Regions from separate parts of the Homo sapiens genome. Here region 2 is linked to region 1. Evidence: promoter capture Hi-C in human tissues and cell types (Jung and others, 2019). All regions are on one chromosome and are shown on one strand. The core of a region is centred on a gene start or on the middle of the fragment in contact, and the rest is flanking DNA. Distances in the headings are between cores, read along the strand shown. Region 1 holds the start of C1GALT1C1 (C1GALT1 specific chaperone 1). Region 2 has its middle 4.5 kb from the start of TMEM255A.

Region 1 (4,651 bases), core at 1,436-3,935:
TGTCAGAAATAAAATTCATTTTGGTATTCCTTTAGAAAACATACCACCATTATAATTATTTGTAATAAATTGTTTAATGTCTTTCTTCCCCACTTGACTGACAGCTCCATGAAGTCAGGGTACTTATTTTGCTCACCACTGTATCTCCAGATTTTAAGATAGTGTTGCCAGGATAGTAACTACCTACAATATATTTGTTCATTGTTTCAGAGTTCCCTGAAACCTTCAGTCTACTTAAACTAGGTCACTGACAACACTCAAATACATGTGTGTCTTTAGGAACTCAGGCCCGAGTAAGTCACCACTCAATTTTATCTTAATGGAACCTAGTAACAATACACTTTAAATAATTGTAAAAATTTGGGCTTTTTAGCAAAAAGCCTTCTGCCACAAAAATGAATTTTTTTTTTTTTTTTGAGATGGAGTCTTGCTCACTCTCCCAGGCTGGAGTGCAGTGGCACGATCTCGGCTCACTGCAACCTCCACCTCCCAGGTTCAAGCAATTCTTCTGCCTCAGCCTCCCGAGTAGCTGGGATTACAAGCATGAGCCACCACGCCCGACTAATTTTTATTTTATTTTATTTTATTTTATTTTATTTTATTTTATTTTTTTTTTTTGAGATGGAGTCTCGTTCTGTCGCCCAGGCTGGAGTGCAGTGGCGCTATCTGGGCTCACTGCAGGCTCTGCCCCGGGGTTCACGCCATTCTCCTGCCTCAGCCTCCCGAGTAGCTGGGACTACAGGCGCCCGCCACCTCGCCCGGCTAATTTTTTGTATTTTTAGTAGAGACGGGGTTTCACTGTGTTAGCCAGGATGGTCTCGATCTCCTGACCTCGTGATCCGCCCGCCTCGGAGTCTCGCTCTTTCGCCCAGGCCAGACTGCAGTGGCGCTATCTCGGCTCACTGCAAGCTCCGCCTCCCGGGTTCACGGCATTCTCCTGCCTCAGCCTCCCGAGTAGCTGGGACTACAGGCGCATGCCACCGCGCCCGGCTAATTTTTTGTATTTTTAGTAGAGACAGGGTTTCACCGTGTTAGCCAGGATGGTCTTGATCTCCTGACCTCAGGTGATCCACCTGCCTCGGCCTCCCACAGTTTTGGGATTACAGGCGTGAGCCACTGCGCCTGGCCAAAAATGAATTTTAAAAGACAGATCGGTGGCTCACACCTGTAATCCCAGCACTGTGGAAGGCCGAGGCGGGTGGAACACCTGAGGTCAGGAGTTCGAGACCAGCCTGGCCAACACGGCGAAACCCCGTCTCTACTAAAAAAAAAAATAATAATAACCAGACGTGGTGGCGCACACCTGTAATCCTAGCCACTAGGGAGGCTGAGGCAGGAGAATCACTTGAACCCGGGAGGCAGAGGCTGCAGTGAACCGAGATCCCGCCATTGCACTCCAGCCTGGGCAAAAAGAACGAAACTCGGTCTCAAAAAAAAAAAAAAAAAAAAGAGACACATCAAATATTTCGTGGAAAGAGAGCTCTGCACTCTTAATTAGAAGACCTGGGGGCCGTGCGCAGTGGCTCAAGCCTGTAATCCCAGCACTTTGGGAGGCCGAGGCGGGTGGATCACCTGAGGTCAGGAATTCAAGACCAGCCTGGCCAACCCCGTCTCTACTAATAATACAAAAATTAGCCGGGCGTGGTGGCGGGCGTCTGTAATCCCAGCTGCTAGGGAGGCTGAGGTAGAAGAATCGCTTGAACCCGGGAGGCAGAGGTTGCAGTGAGCCGAGATCGTGCCATTGCACTCCAGCCTGGGCAACAAGAGTGAAACTCCGTCTCAAAAAAAAAAAAAAAAGAGACCTGGATTCCAGTCCCACCTCTGCCATTAACTTGCTGTGTGGACTTTTGAAATTTCCTTATCCTTTTTAGGCCTGGTTCCTCAGCTGTAGTTCTAATATTCATTAATTCCACTAATATTTACTGTCCACTGCGTGCTGGCACTGTGGTTAAGTACTAGAAATACTGGGGTGAATAATAACAGCCAGTACTTTTTAGTAAATGCTTACTCTAGGCTTGAAATTTTGCTAAGGGAGTCATATGCACTATCTCATCTAATTTTCTATGAAATAGGCACTACTGTGACATTTTCTGTACTTTACAAATGAGGGAACTGAGGCACAGCGAGGTGAAATAACTTTCCTGGGATATCAAAAGGTGTGGTGAAGACAGGATTGGATTCCAGGCAGTGGGGCTTCAGATCTCATTCCAGTAATAATAGGAAACCGTTGGTGTCATAATTACGTGACTATTTCAGTGGCTTGCGTTTTGGTCTCAGCCCAGGAGTACTGGGGGGGTGGGCAATATGAGGGTTCAAGGACGCAGGGGTACATCAGAGAAACCATCAAGAGGTCTGATAAAAAGCGACACCGGGAGCAAGAATCTCTCGCTCTCGCAATTTCCATGCCAGGAAGGTGAAATGGGAGGTGTCAGCGAGTCGTACGCACGGCCTCTTCTCTGGACGCCCGTTGGGTAAAGGAGAGCGTCCGGGTCACGCAGGCCTATAGCAAGTCTCTGAACTCGGCAGGGGGCGGGGAGAAAGGGCACGCAGTGTGCGCGCAGCGGGCGCGCCGGCCCTTCCGACGCCTGCGCGGGCGGGCAAACGGACGGCTCCGCCCAGCCGCCGGCTCCTTTACCCCGCCCCACTACCCCCGCCTTCGCGGCGCTCGTTTCCTGGCGCTCCCCACCTTTAGCGAGACCAACGAGAGAACACCGCCTGCAGCTAGAACAGCCTGGTCAGGAGCGTAACGGAGTGGTGCGCCAACGTGAGAGGAAACCCGTGCGCGGCTGCGCTTTCCTGTCCCCAAGCCGTTCTAGACGCGGGTGAGTGGCGGGGCCTCGACCCCCACCCCAAGCGCACCCTGACTCCCCTCCCTCTCTTGGGGGAGGCCTGGGCCCCAGCCCTCTCCCAGCATGCTCCACGCGGGATGCTTGGGCAGGTGCAGCGGGAGGATTGTCAGCACAGGAGACCGAGAGTCTTCTTCCTGGGGGCGCTCTCTTGGTCCCTCAGAGGGATATCGAGGTTACCATGTCCTCCCTCTCACTTCTCTTCCCTATTTCGTCTTCGTTTTCCGTACTTCACCCCAACTACCTTCACCCAAAAAGGTTCATCTAAAAACCATTGGGGTAGTTTCTGTTTCATTTGTGCTCGTGTGCAGTTTTGTTTCCTTCTGCACAAAGTATCCTATCATATGCATCCCTAGTGTTATATTTTTTGCCTCTGTGATGGGGAAAAAATCTCCTTAGAATAATTTTTGCAAATTATTTTATTTAAAATGTGTAGACTTACTGAGTTTTGATCACTATTTTTGCAGCCAGGAGTAGGATCACCATCAGGAAGAATTCTGACACATATGCCATAATTGAGCAAAGAAACATGTGAATTATGTATTGGCCAGAAATAATGAAAACTGCGTGACATGAAATACAAAAATCCTATATAAATTAATCTTAGAGTGCACCTGACAATTCTTTTTCTTTTTTCTTTCTTTCTTTCTTTTTTTTTTTTGAAACAGAGTCTCGCTCTTGTTGCCCAGGCCGGAGTGCTGTGGTGCGATCTTGGCTCACTGCCTGCAACCTCCGCCTCCCGGGTTCAAGCAATTCTCCTGCCTCAGCCTCCTGAGTAGCTGGGATTACAGTCATATGCCACCATGCCCGGCTAATTTTTGTATTTTTAGTCGAGACAGGGTCTCACCATGTTGGCCAGGCTGGTCTTGAACTCCCTACCTCAGGTGATCCACCTGCCTCGGCCTCCCAAAGTGCTGGGATTACAGGCGTGAGCCACCGCACACAGCCGACAATTCTAATATTATGCCGAGCTTGTTTTCTGTCACTTCTCTTCTTGGAACTGTGTTTATTGACCAAGTTCTGTGAGTGACACAGGAAAGTCTTCCTGCCTCTTGCCCCACCCACCGCTCAGAAATTACATCTGCCAAGCTATTCCACACCTTGTCTTTCTGGTAGAAGTCAAAATTCCATTTCCTCTAGCAGAAAACCACAGGAGTGGTTTCCTTGTAGCAATATGGTGCTGTTGGGTGCAAAATATCAGTTATGGTCAACAGATCCCACTTTTTTCCCATTTGTATGAAAACAAGGATATTCAGTAACCCATTTATTAAACTCTAATGTGGTAGAAGCACTATGGCAATTATTCTTCTGTAATGGAAAAAAACCATTAAACTGATATTGAGAAATGTGGTTTCTAGTCCACTTATACCACTGTCTAACTGTGTGACTGAGTCAGTTATTTAACCTCTGTGGACTTCCATTTCCTCTCTGTAAAATGAGAGAAGTGACTGACATTGGGTAGTTTTCTAAGGCTCCTTTCAACCATAAGAGAAAACTGGGAAGTCTAAGTAGCTCAATAGATTGCTTTTTTCTGAAGATGGAGGGAAGATTGGAAAATTCAGCCTTTACTAGAATAAATGGTTAACATACAATTTTTTTCAACAAGTTTATTTAATGTCAGCTTTTAATTTCTTTTATTTATTTATTTTTTCTGAGACAGAGTCTCACTCTGATGCCCTGGCTGGAGTGCCGTGGTGAGATCACAGCTCACTACAGCCTCCGCTTCCCAAGTTCAAGAGACTCTTGTGCCTCAGCCTCCCGAGTAGCTGGGATTACAGGCACCCACCACCACGTCTGGCTAATTT
Region 2 (4,786 bases), core at 284-2,783, 310 kb after region 1:
GCTACTCATCTCCTCTCCCTTTCCCCCGATTTAAAAGTAATACATATGGTGAATTTTTCTGTGTAGATGTTTTCCTTCAGTAGTAAATAGTTTGCAGTATAAAATGTTAATTATGCTTCTCATAGACTGATCTCACTCTAACCTTAACATTTGTGGTTATTAACCTCTGTTACATTTATTCTGAAATTCAAAAAAAGTTACCTAGCCTTCTTAAACATCACCATGTCCCTAGTGTATTCATTGATTCATGCATTATGGTTCTCTGTTGCTGTTTTATGCCTTCAAATTAGGAAGATGTGAAATTCTGTGGAAAACAAAGACTAACCTTAAAAATAAACTATCTCCTTTCTGTAGTAGGAAATGGACTGTTTTCAGAACTAACTTTCCTATCAAAAATTCAGTAGAAGTATGTATACCTGAATCATTTTTGTTTTTGTTAATGCTTCCAAACAATGTACTTTGAAATCAGAATCATTTCTTTATATTCATTTTTATGTAATTCTCCTGATGCTCTTCCTTACACAATAGTGATCAGAAAGGAGATGTAGTTTCCTTTCCCTGCCCATTATAGCTAAGTGGGTATCATAATGTAAGTTGGAGGGAATTTTATTATGCAAGAAGGAACTACCATTGGGTTTGATTGATTGAAGATGGACTTTGATGTGGTGTATCTGAAAGCTATTAAATGCAACTTACAAGCCTTAATAAAAATATTTATTATTTCATTATTTAGCAAGTTTACTTTTAAAATACTTTTTAGAGTATTTAACTCTCAAAATAAACAAACAAAGGTAAAACTATGCATGGAGAAAAAATGTGGAATAATGCATTCAAACCCGTAAAGCATTTTTATCTGTGGAGAGTAGAATTGTGGAGCAGGAGTAATTTGCTGCATCAAGCACCTCTGCAGTTTTGGGAACTTTTACCGTGTTGTGTCTTATTTAGTAGGTAGAATAAAGCAATAGATAAAAATAAGTAAAACATGTTCAACAAGTATTGAAATGCCAACTATGTACCAGACGTAATTAAGTGATCATCATCGAAACTGTAAAGGCTAAATATAAGAAAGACTTTGAGTATTTGCACCAGAGAACAATAATGAATATGACAATGAAAACACCTGAGCAGTTGGAATTTTCTAAGGTATAGTCATGCATCGCTTATTGACAGGAACACCTTCTGAGGAATGCGTCGTTAGGTGATTTCGTCCTTGTGCAAACATCATAGAGTGTACTCACACAAATCTAGATAGTATATCCTACTGCATAGCTAGGCTATTAGGCAAAACCTAGATAGTATATCCTACTACACAGCTAGGCTATAAGGCATATGCTATCTCACCTAGACTACAAATGTGTACAGCATGTGACTGTACTGAATACTGTTGTAATACAATGGTCAGTATTTGTGTATCTAAACATAGTTAAACATAGAAAAGGTACAGTACAAATGCAGTATAAAGGATAAAAAATGGTACACCTGTATAGAGCACTTACCATGAATGGAGCCTGCAGAACTGGAAGTTCCTCTGGGTGAGTCACTGAGTGACTCAATACAATCATGGTAGTATTGTGTCCTATTATGAAGGAATGTGAAAGCCTAGGACATTACTGTACACTACTATACACTTTATAAACACTGTACACTTAGGCTGCACTACATTTATTTTAAAAGATTATTCTTTCTTCAATAAATTAACCTTAGCTTACTGTAACTTGTACATTATAAACTTTTTTTTAACTTTTGACCCTTGTAATAACACTCTTAAACACACACCGTACAGCTGTACAAAATATTTTCTTTCTTTACATCCTTATTCCACATGCTTTTTCTATTCTAACTTTTTTCTTTACTTTTCTAAATTTTTTGTTAAGAACAAAGACAAAACACACACACATTAGCCTATGCCTACACAGGGTCAGGATCATCAATATCACTGTCTTCTACCTCCACGTCTTGTTCCACTGGAAGGTCTTCAGGAGCAATAACACACATGGAGCTGTCATCTTTTATGACAACAATGCCTTCTTCTGCAATACCTCCCAAAGGACCTACATGAGGCTGTTTTACAGTTAACTTTTAAAAAATATTTAAGTAGAAGGAGTACACTCTATAATAATGATAAAGTGTATAGTATAGGAAATACATAAACCAGTAACATAGTCATTTATTATCATTATCAAGTATTATGGATTGTACCTAATTGTATATGCTACACTTTCACGTGATTGTCAGCACAGTGAGCTTATTTACACCAGCATCACCACAAACTCGTGAGTAACACATTGCACTATGATGTCACTAGGTGATAGGAGTTTTTCAGCTCCATTATAATGTTATGGGAACACCTTCATATCTGCATTCCATTGTTGACCAAAACATCATTATGTGGCACATGACTGTACTTGTGGGCTGTGACAGTGTTGTCTGCCCTGGCACTGCCCTCGCCCTCTGCCTCCTAGATCTGTGGTTCCCACTGGATGCCTTGTGCCCAACTGAACTTCAGCTTCTTGACTGGCCCTTCCCGTAGCTGACTGCAATTAGGTGTGTCTTCAGTGTTAAACATCTCCTTTTCAAGGTAAAATCAAGAGGTCATGGGAACCCAGACACTTTCAGATGCTGATGGTGGGTATGTACTTTGCTACAAATATTTGGGAGGGCAATTTGGCAATACATTTTCAAAGCCTTAAAAATATTCTGACTTGATAAAAATCAGAATAGTGGTTACCTCTGGGAGGGTTATTGACTGGGGAGGGGGCTCAAGAGAGCCATCTGGGATGTTAGGTTCAATATCTTAATCTGGGTGGTGGTTTACAAGTGTGTGTGTGTGTGTGTGTGTGTGTGTGTGTGTGTGTTAAAATACATTGGTCTGTACATTTTATTACATGTGTGTTGATAAAAAAAGTTTAATTAAAAGTATGTGTTTGGAACGTTTGAACCAATAATTCCATGATAGTATTGTATCCTACGGTGAAAAAGATGCAAAGGTTTAGTTCATTGCATTATTTACAATGTTAAAAAACTGGCAATCTCTAAAATATTCAATAACAGTGAAATGGTAAATAAATTATGTTCCATTCATTTTAAATCATATTATCAAAGGTTTTTTCTTTACTGATATTGGAAAACATTTATTATATAGCGTTTGGTAACTAACACAGGTTACAAAATAGAAATAAATCAATAACAAAGTAAAGACAAGTACCAACACTGTTCCCTGGTGCTATGGTTATTTTCCTGGTACCCAAAGAAAAAGACCAGCTGGCAATGAGAATCAGGCAACACCCTTAACTATGGTTTTCCTCAATCAAGATTCACATGTTTGTGGTGCAGGCACTGAGTACTAGGCATTGACCTAAGGTAGTCTGGTGGGCACACCCCAACCTCAGTTAGGAATGTTTGGACTCTTTGAGGCTCTCCATTATTCTGAAGCTTCTCTCTGTCCTTGATCAACCAAAGTCTGGAAAACGAGAGTTGGATGGTGATAACCAGAGCGTAGAGATACTAGCTGGGATGTCTATAAGTATGTGCACTTGTGAATACCTGTATGGCCACCATTTTAAATATGCATGTATGCATGTATGTGTGTGTAAACATGTAGACATTTCTCTAGCCCACATTCCCAGAATTGGAATCAGGAAGGTATACTATGTAATTTAAATAGTCAAATTGGTCAGCAAAATAAGGAGATAATTGAATGCTATGGCTCTTCCCAGGGAGAATGTGTTAGACACAGAGCACCATCTGGCATTTTTCTACTGGTCTGAAGGCTTCTGGGGAGGGCGCTCATCACTGGTTTGAAGAAGATGGAGAGAAGTAGGCTGCAGCCCCATTGGTAAACATTTCCTGATGCTATAAAGCAGTTTGCAACCTAGGGCAACACTGTATGCTTGATTAAGCTTGCTATGAAAAGGATTTATTTTAAGGCATTTTAATAATTTCTTTTTTTTATCAAAAGCTAACCAAGCAGTTTTATAGTAGCCTTCACTTGCATGAAAGACCTGTTTCTTCATCTAGATGGCTTGCCTATTGGTAAGTTTTATTATAAACCTATTTATGTATAAACTCCACATGTGTTTTGACATGAAGAAAATCAGAATGGAGCCCAGGAAACATTGCCTCTTGCTTTTTAATCATCCTGTTCAATTTGAGTTAAAATAAACTTTTTTTTGGAGGAAAAGAGGTGTATGTACTGGGCTTAGTTAAAATGTAGGGGGTTTTCCCCCCAGTTCCCATTCTAGTCCCTCCCCTTTTCCCGATCCTCTCTCCAGACAAATACACCATCTCTGGGGAGAAGACTGCTACTACTCTCCAAGCTGCTGCAGCTGCTGCTATTGTCACTGCTACTGGTCTCAAAGTCATTTTTAACTTGACTGAGTGCGTGCTGTGCTCCAAGTCCCACAAGGCACCCCAAGAGACAGCACAAAAGAAACATACCATATGCAGTTCTTTTAAATAGCCAGCTCCTCTAGTACTTTATAAAATAATGTTCAATTTCAAGCAGGATTCAGGAATACAGATGTTGAGAAAGCAAACCTCACTCCCATTAAAGGTACCTCACTAGTTTGTGTCTTTGGGATTATAAAGGTCAAATTACATATGCCCTCTGCATCATTTGGTGGGTAGTGTGTTTCTCTCTGAATTGAAAAGCCCTCAATCTGTCCATCAAAACCAGCATGGTAACAAGTTTCTATTTGGCTTCTTTAGGGATCTCTTGCTGTGTGATTGCTATAGGGGAGCCAAGAATCTCTAAAGAAGGTGTCATATAGTCTTTAGAGCCTGTATA

The links. The method cuts DNA at HindIII sites, captures the fragments that hold promoters and counts their contacts. A contact is called where the count stands out against the background at its distance.
Region 2: a fragment that was not itself captured here is called in contact with the fragment with the promoter of C1GALT1C1 in region 1 in 1 of the 25 tissues and cell types used here (pancreas).

Annotation. Positions count from the first base shown.
Region 1 is chrX:120,628,088-120,632,738 of GRCh38, reverse strand. C1GALT1C1 (C1GALT1 specific chaperone 1) reads left to right here and starts at 2,685. Exons shown (of 2, transcript NM_001011551.3): 1 at 2,685-2,822. RefSeq lists a silencer at 2,448-2,717 and an enhancer at 2,377-3,304. The HindIII fragment of the contact is 19,007 bases long and covers 1-4,651 here.
Region 2 is chrX:120,313,536-120,318,321 of GRCh38, reverse strand. No RefSeq gene overlaps it. Among named protein-coding and RNA genes, the nearest start is that of TMEM255A, 4.5 kb to the right of the region's middle. The HindIII fragment of the contact is 6,105 bases long and covers 1-4,585 here.